2 separate regions of the Homo sapiens genome follow, and region 1 is linked to region 2. Evidence: promoter capture Hi-C in 16 types of primary human blood cells and fetal thymus (Javierre and others, 2016). All regions are on one chromosome and are shown on one strand. Each heading gives the region's core, a stretch centred on a gene start or on the middle of the fragment in contact. The rest is flanking DNA. Distances are from core to core; before and after follow the strand shown.

What was found. Contacts are between HindIII fragments. The CHiCAGO score rates a contact against its expected background, and 5 or more counts as called.
Region 1: a contact is called between a fragment that was not itself captured here and the fragment with the promoter of SMCR5 in region 2, in 1 of 17 cell types (fetal thymus). The highest score is 5.3, in fetal thymus.

Annotation. Positions count from the first base shown.
Region 1 is chr17:17,925,186-17,929,411 of GRCh38, reverse strand. The region is part of intron 1 of TOM1L2 (target of myb1 like 2 membrane trafficking protein); the gene reads left to right. Among named protein-coding and RNA genes, the nearest start is that of TOM1L2, 45 kb to the left of the region's middle. The HindIII fragment of the contact is 826 bases long and covers 2,356-3,181 here.
Region 2 is chr17:17,777,251-17,781,662 of GRCh38, reverse strand. SMCR5 (Smith-Magenis syndrome chromosome region, candidate 5) reads left to right here and starts at 2,134. Exons shown (of 1, transcript NR_024007.1): 1 at 2,134-4,412. All of the region lies in intron 2 of RAI1 (retinoic acid induced 1), which reads right to left. All of the region lies in intron 1 of LOC124903942 (a long non-coding RNA gene), which reads left to right. RefSeq lists enhancers at 239-1,128, 2,018-2,907. The HindIII fragment of the contact is 16,515 bases long and covers 1-4,412 here.

The DNA of each region.
Region 1 (4,226 bases), core at 1,519-4,018, 150 kb before region 2:
GATCCACCTGCCTCCCAAAGTGCTGGGATTACAGGCGTGAGCCACCACGCCCAGGCTCTGACATTCTTGAATATCCCTATCAACCCCTCTCACCCACCCAAAGCCTGCTGCTCAAAGCAGCTCTAAGCAGAAGAGATGGAGAAACATTCAGACTGGGTGGAGCATGGCCCAGGCTGTGTTGCTGCCCACTTCTGTCTAGATGGGCAGTTCTTGACTTCCCCGCCTGACGCTGCTGAGCAGCCACAGTCCCGACTGCATTCTGGCTTGTACCCTTTACTATAGTGCCAGCCACAGAGAGCAGCCATGCAGCATTTTTAAGTAGCCAAGGAAAGGCCCGTTCTCACAGCAGTGCTTGGGGAATCTTCAGACTTGGTATTAGGAACCATAGCAATGAGACTTGTTACAAGCTTGCAAAACAAAATGGGATTTTTCTGTGTGGTCCAGCAAGGATCTAGACAGAAAGTCTGCTTGATTTTGTTTTGCCTTGCTGGCTTCATAAACCCACGTAGCAGAAGCACTTTGTGAATCAGAAATGGAAGCATTGTTCTCTGATACTGAGGAATGCCTTTCCTGAATGGCTACTGTGGGTGGGAATAGCTCTAAAGAAAAAAAAAATCCTGAGACACAGACAGCAGCTATTTATGTTCTATTCTGTTTGACACACATTATTGAATACCTACTGTGTGCTGGTAAAATTCATGGTGCATCAGGGAAGGCAGGTCCATGAGGAACCATTAGACAAGCAATAGGGGCTGGATGAGCCTCAGCAAGTGAGGACTGTGAGATCCCAGAAGAGTGCAATTAATTCATCTCGTGTGTGCATGCTCACGCGGGGGCCGTCTGGGGCCCTCACTGAGAGGAGGCAACGAGCTGAGTGTTAAAGGGAGGGTGTCGCCTTCTGTGTTCTCTTTTGACCCTTTCCATTATGTGAGCATGCATTTTTACCTTGTGGTGATTAGTATGCACATAATATTTTATCCTGCCTGTTTTCCTCTTAGCATTCCTATGCCGATTTCCACTTAGCGACTAGGCTGAAGTATTTATCATTTTAAAAAGCCACGTAGCGTTTTTGCCTTATTGATGTACCCTCGTTGCTTAGCCATCTTCTCGTTTGTTGGGAGCAGCAGTGTTTTTCTCAATTATGCATCTTTGCAGAATCAGCTCTCCCCTTCCCCCTTATTTATTTCCTTAGGGGGCTATTGCCGGGTCAAAGTTATGAATGGTTTTATGCTGTCTCCTACTGATTTTTTTTGTTGTTACAGAAAATTTCAGACATATACAAAAGGAAAAAGATGACTATAATGAACCCCCACATACTCATCATTGAGCTTCTACAATTATCAATTCATGGCAGTTTTGGTTCATCCATAGCCCCACACACTTTTATCCTGGATTATTTTTCAGTAAATCCCAGACATCATATAATTTCATCTATGAATACCTAAGTATGCATTTCTAAAAGATAAGGAATCTTTTTAAAAGTATAGCTGACTGGGTGTGGTGGTTCATGCCTGTAATCCCAACACTTTGGGAGGCCTGGGTAACATAGTGAAACCCTGGCTGTACCACGAATACAAAAATTAGCCAGGTGTGGTGGCACATGCCTGTAGTCCCAGCTACTCAGGAGGCTGAGGGTGGGAGGCTCACTTGAGCCTGGAAGGTTGAGGCTGCAGTGAGCCAAGATTGTGCCGCTGCATTCCCAGCCTGAGTGACTGAGTGAGATCCTGTCTCAAAAAAAAAAAAAAAAAGTATAGCCAACAGCTTATTATCATATCTAAAATAAATTAATCATAATCCTTAATATCATAAAATATCTAGTCATCCAACTGACAGTTTAAGATTCCCTAGTGTTTTCTGTGGCCATTCTCACGAGGCCAAATGTTTATTTGCTCCACCATGTTCTTCAGGGAATGTTTCCCTTGATGTATCACATTGAGGTTGAGTTCTTTATCAAGAAAGGTCTGCATGCAGGTCCTGGCCTCAGAAAGAGATGGAGGGAAAGAAGAAGGGATAAAGAGAGGCCTCTCTCCACAGCCTCTGCAGCTGGCCTCATGTGGTTTGCGCCACATAGGGTGGTAGGTTCTCTCTGCCCGTTACTCACATGGTAAACCCAGCTGTGCTGCTTTATCCACATACCAGCTTGACTTGGTACAGTGTGCTGAAAATAATGTCGGGCCTGTCCCTTTGGACTCCACCCCCATTGAAGAATGCAGTTTCATGCTGTTGGTTTTTTTAGTGCTAAAGAAACTAGATAGATACTGTGTTTATTTTTCTACAGTAAAAATCCGAAAAGCTAGGAAAATGCCTATTCCCTGTTGGATTTTGATCTTATTTGCATGTTTCCCTTGGCAAGCTTTGTTTCGTATTATTCAAGGTGACCCACTTAGAACTACTGTTTAAAGTCACATTGTCATTAATAAGTTACACAACCTGTGTGTGATAAGTCTGTTAGCCCTGAATATTGTATAAACAGGAATACATGCTTGTGTTGGGGCTCTTCTTCATATTTAAATATGGTTACATTTCTTTTTCTTTTTCTTTCTTCCTTTTTTTTGAGACAGAGTCCCTCTCTGTCGCCCAGACAGGAGTGCAGTGGTGTGATCCTTGCTCACTGCAACCTCTGCCTCCCAGGTTCAAGCGATTCTTGTGCCTCAACCTCTCAAGTAGCTGGGATTACAGGCGTGTGCTACCAGGCCCAGCTAATTTTTGTATATTTTGTAAAGATGGAGTTTCACCATGTTGGCTGGTCTTGAACTCCTGAGCTCAAGCAATCCGCCCGCCTCGGCCTCCAAAACTGCTGGGATTACAGGTGTAATCCATCACACCAGGCCCAAATATGGTTACATTTAAATGTAATCTTCCCTGTTTGTTCTCACTGTTGATATTCGTGACCTTTCTATGTTGATGAATAGGAGTAATTTCCCAGATGATCTAGAACCCTATTGTATTTGGCTTTGGAATGTGAAACACGTGTACATTTATGTCCGCATCTCCCCTTGTGCCAGTCCAGACTGGCTCTCAGTTTGGTCCTCCTTAACTAGCTGGGTACCCTGGGTGACCTCCTTTGGGACAAGGGAGAGTTAGCAGGGAGGCCTGGTCAGAATAAAATGCCTTTTGAGAGATATTGGGGTTACCAGGCTTTTATCCTTAAGTCTGTATGTTCAGACTAAGTAATGAAGCTTACTTATGTTTAGGCCAGCTTGAAAGCTTGTACCTAGCTTTTTTTTTTTTTTTTCTCCAAGAGACAGAGTTTTACTCTGTCCCCCAGGCTAGAATACAGTGGTATGATCACAACTCACTGCGGCCTCGACATCCTGTGCTCAAGTGATCCTCTCACCTCAGCCTGTGGAGTAGCTGGGACTACAGGTGCGTGCCACTGAGCCCTGCTAATTTTTAAATTTTTGGTAGAGACAAGGTCTTGCTGTGTTACCCAGGCTGGTTTTGAATTCCTGGGCTCAAGTGGACTTCCTGCCTTGGCCTTCCAAAGTGCTGGGATTATGGGCATGAGGCACCACGACTAACCTATAGCCTATACCTAGCTTTTTTTTTTTTTTTTTGAGACAGGGTCTCACTGTGTCACCCAGGCTAGAGTACAGTGGCACCATCATAGCTTACTGCAGCCTCCATCTCCTGGGCTCAAGCGATCTTCCTACCTCAGCCTCCCAAGTAGCTGGGACTATAGGCATGCGTTACCACATCTGGCTAATTTTTTTTTTTTTTTTTTTTTTTGGTAGACACGAGGTGAGGTCGCTATGTTGGCCAGGCTGGTCTTGAACTCCTGAGCTCAAGAGATCCTCCCACCTCAGCGTGGCAAAGTGCTGGGATTAGAGGCATGAGCCACTGCGCCTGGGCTATACCTGGCTATTTTTGATGGAAGAATTAAATAACTGGCTTTTAGTTTTGGTCATTAGTTTGCCACTTTCTTTCTTAGTCTTTTGCTGTATAATATCCTCTTTCCTTCTTTTTGTAACAGTAATAACATAAAAAATTTTTAAAGTTTGCCTTTAAGCCAAATACTTCAACACACTGATTATTTTCACTTTTTCCCATTTATCTTCCAGGCATTATCCATATGCATGTTTTTTTAAAAATCAATTTTGTGTCTTTTTTTTCTTACATCATTACAAAATGTTTCTATATGGTTTTAAGAATTATTACTTATAATGGCTGTATTAGGTTGTTCTTGCATTGCCATAAAGAAATACCTGAGACTAGGTAATTTATAA
Region 2 (4,412 bases), core at 885-3,384:
TCCCCGAAGGCAGTTTAGTGCTGCCGTCCCCTTTTCAGGCTCACCCTCCCTTAGACTCACCCAGACCCCTCCCTCCCAGCCCCTTCCCCTGCGGCCAAGCACCCCAGGCCAGCAGCTCAGACTACCCTCCGCCCCCAGTCAGGGAATGAGGCCGCAGGAAGTTCAAGTAGGCTCCCATTACTCTGCTCTCCAAAAGGCCACCCATGCAAACCCCAGCCTGTCCTTCCCCCAAGAGGTGGGGAGCAGCAGAGGAGCTGACTGAGCTCAGAGGCCCCCCTGGGGCTTTGACTGGATCTCTCCCTCACTTGACATTTTGCAGACTGCTCCGTGCCCAATCCTGGAGACCCACAGGCATAGGAACCCGTGAGCACCTCCCTCCTGAAGGAGGTGGGGTAAGACTCCCTGCTGCAGCACAGAGGACGGAAGGTTGGAGGAAGTGGTGGGCTGAGAAAGGAGCAGGGCATTCCAGCCGCCAGGAGCTGCCTAGCTTGGTGGCGGGGAAGAATACCGCCTATTTGGGAACCTGAGATGGAGTTCTCTCTGTGGTTTAGCTAGTCTGGAGGAGACAGGCCTCAAGGGCTGGGCCCCTTCCCCAAGAGGGCAGCCTCTGGTGGGGGGTGGAGATTCCAGCAGAGAGGTAAGAAGCCTGGCAGGTTCCTAGCTCCTGGGAGGGGAGGGGGTGAGGATGCCTGTGGAATACAGATTAAAGACAGCGCTGACTCTGAGTGCTGGGCCCGGGACACTCCTGGGCCTGCCCAGAAAGCAAGGCTGGCCCAGAAGGGGAGAGACAGGGACACAGCCTCCTAAGCAAATGCAGAGCCTAGCATTACAGAGTGGGGGTTCTCAAGGGGCTTCTCCCCCAGCCAGCTAGACACTGGGCATGGACTTCCCTCATATCTGGAAAGGTCTTGATAAGGCTCAGACTGCTGGAGCCGTGTAACTGCAGCACCCTCAAAGGCTGATGCCGTCTGACCCCCTCCTGTGTCCAAGGTGCCTCAATAGATTTTACTTCTCTCAAACTGCCCTTCTGGGAGGTGACATCACCTGTCATTTCACAGACATGCAAACTGAGCTCCAGAGAAGAGAAGGGGGTATTCCAAACTCCAGCCTCTGGGGGCCCTCCCTGGTCCCCCTGTCCTAGGCCCTGAGGGGTGGGACCTCAATCGGGGAGATGCCCGTGGGGCTTTGGTGAATACAGGATACAGGCACCCAGGGGTGAAAGACATGGGCGAGGAGGTCCTGGTTCCCCCTGAAAATTTCAGAAAACTGGTTTTCTTGGGAGAAAAAAAGGGTGGGTGGCCGGGTGCGATGCCTCACGCCTGTAATCCTAGCACTTTGGGAGGCCAAGGTGGGTGGATCACTTGAAGTCAGGAGTTTGAGACCAGCCTGGCAAACATGTTGAAACCCCGTCTCTACTAAAAATATAAAAATTAACTTGACATGGTAGCATGCGCCTGTAATTCCAGCTACTCGGGAGGCTGAGGCATGAGAATTGCTTGAACCTGGGAGGCGGAGGTTGCAGTGAGCCAAGATTGCGCCATTGCACTCCAGCCTGGGGACAAGAGTAAAACTCTTGTCTTAAAAAAAAGCCTGGGTGGAGTGGCTCACTCCTGTAATCCGAGCACTTTGGGAGGCCGAGGCAGGCGGATCATGAGGTCAGGAGATCGAGACCATCCTGGCTAACACGGTGAAACCCCGTCTCTACTAAAAATACAAAAAATTAGCCGGGCGAGGTGGCGGGTGCCTGCAGTCCCAGCTATGCAGGAGGCTGAGGCAGGAGAATGGCGTGAACCCCGGGGGGCGGAGCCTGCAGTGAGCCAAGATCGCGCCACTGCACTCCAGCCTGGGCAAGGGCGAGACTCCGTCTATTAAAAAAAAAAAAAAAAAAAAAGGGTGGGGAGGGGACTAGAGAGAAGTCCCAGGGCCTACCATCACTGATTTCCCGCTACCCACTTGGCCAGGCTACCTACTAAGGGTTTCCATGTGGGGATTTGGCTCCTGGGGCTGCAGAATTATGATAATGAGGCCTAAGTCCACATGGGTCTTGTTCCTTCATCTGTAGACCAAATACAAACCCTATGTAGCCATGTGCCACACTCTTCAACTGTGTGTAGCTACTGTTGTGCTGAAAAAAATTCACTCAGGGCCTAAGAGCTTTGGGCAGTTAAATCCCCCTCCCCGACAACAGACTAACAGGTCCCATTTTGATATCAAGGGCTGGGGTTTCAAGACAGGGAACTGTGGGGCCCACGCTGTCCTGGCCTCCCTGGAGGCCTGGCTGCTCTCATGCCAGGAAGGGAGCTTCCATTTACTACGGGCCTAGGATGGCCGCCCCGCTGCCCCCAGCGCTCCCTGGGTGGGTGCGGATCCTGGCCAGTCCCCCAGACACGCAGTCTGCTGACCAGAAGCAGCGACCTTCGGGGAGAGCCAGCCACCAGCCAGCCACTGCTCCAGAGGCAGGCCTGGGGCCACCCGGGAGGCTTTCCTCACCACGGAAAATATTTGCCTTTGGTTGTCGGCTGATGCCTTGTCTTGTGTCTGAATGGACAACTGGCTGATTTCTCTCTCTTTGGAACAGCCATGAAATGCGAAGGTGTTTAAGAGTAAAAACCAGGCGAGGGCAACTGGGCCTGGCGTCCAGCTGTTTTGAACAACACTCTTGTTTTTCTCCCAGAGTGAACAGAATACTTTCTGCGGTTCAGAATACTCTGTGCACTGGCCCCTCTTCCCAGGCCCCGCCCCAGCCCCCTCAGGCCTCACCTCCAGCTGCTGCAGACCATTCCAGAACTCCCTCCCTCTTGGCTTCTAGTCACTCAGCATCTGGGGGAGAGAGCCTCTTCCAGCTGTACATAGCTAGCTTGGCCTGGCCCCAGAACTGCTGTGTTCTGGAAAGTTGTAGGAGAATCCCTCTTGGCGGGCTCTCCAGCATGGAGAATCGCAGGCCTCTGCTCCGGAAAGGGAGGCTTTTGAGAGGTCAGATTCACCACAGCCAGACCAATGAACTGTGAGGGCTCATAGGGGCTGGGGCTCCGGTTTCAGGGGTGAGAGGAGCCACCATCTGCCCCCATGCCCACTCTGATTGTAAATGGCTAGACTCTGGTGCCGGGGTCAGCTCTGGATTCATATCCCAGCTCCTGCATATGTATATGCTGGGTGACCTTGGGCAGTTTACTTAACCTCTCTGTGCTTTGTGTGCCTAAGCTGCAAGATACTCTAAATTAAACAGCAAACTTTCAGTGCTGTTGTGGGACGAAATGGGATAATGTGCTTGGTAGCTGGCAGGGGCTCAATAAAAGGTAGCAACTTCCAGGGCCACCAGTTCATGGGGAGCCAGGTCCAAGTCTTGTACTTTCTATGCCTCCCAGGGAGCCACGTATGTCTGCGACAGAGCTGGGGAGGACATTCTGGGGCTGAGGGTTGAGGTCTGCCCATAGAGCAGCGGCCTGTACCTGCAGGCAGGTAGAGTATCATCCTGGCTGAGTCTCAGTGCTCCTCAAACATTAAAGTGTACATCCTGGTGAGACGCAGATTTTGATGCAGCGGGTCAGGTGGGACAGGGGTTCTGCAGCTGTAAGGAACTCCCAGGTCAAGCCAGTGTGGCAGGTCTGTGACCGCAGCTGGTACGGCAAGATCTCAGCCCTGGAAGACTCTGGGTTCTGCTGAGGCTGGGCTCAGAGAGAGAATACAAGTTTTGTCCTGTCCAAGGAGCACCCTCCAGGATTTCAGGACAAGGCTCTGGCTCTGTGTCCCCAAGCCCTCAGTCTCAGAGCTTGGGTCCTGCAGTGGCCTGGGCAACCCTCCGGACTCTCCATTCAGCATTTGTTCCTGACAGCAGTGCACGGATAAAGAGCAGTTTCATGCTGCTGAACTTGCAATCACTTCAAGGCCTGGGCCCCTCTGGGCCTCAGTTTCCCCACTGGCACAGTGGGAAGCTGGGATAAGCTAATCCCACCCTTTCCCCTTGGTAATTCCCCACATTGCTCTTCCCTTCCCTTCATCCCTTCCCAAAACACAGGTCTGAGGCCTGAGCATCCATCCTAGGGGCTGGGCCCCCATCCCCATGACTGCAGTCATGGGGTACAAGACTCATGCAGACTCGTAAGAACAGCCACTTCTGACCTGGGGCCTCGATGTTCCAGGCACTGTCCTAGGCATTTGCATCTACAAACTTCTCACCATAATCCAATCACCACTGTTTTACAGATGAGGAAACTGAGCCCCACGGGGTGAAGCCTATTGCCTGAGATCTTGCAGTTGGTAACGGGTGCAGGCTGGACTCAGGCCCCCACACATGCCCAGGCCCTTGAGTATTTGTAAGGGAAGCAGCTGTTTGGTTTTCTTGGCACAGAGCATCTGCCTAGCTGGTGAGGGCATGGGGAAAGAGGTGCCCAATCTAGTTGGGGATGGGAGGG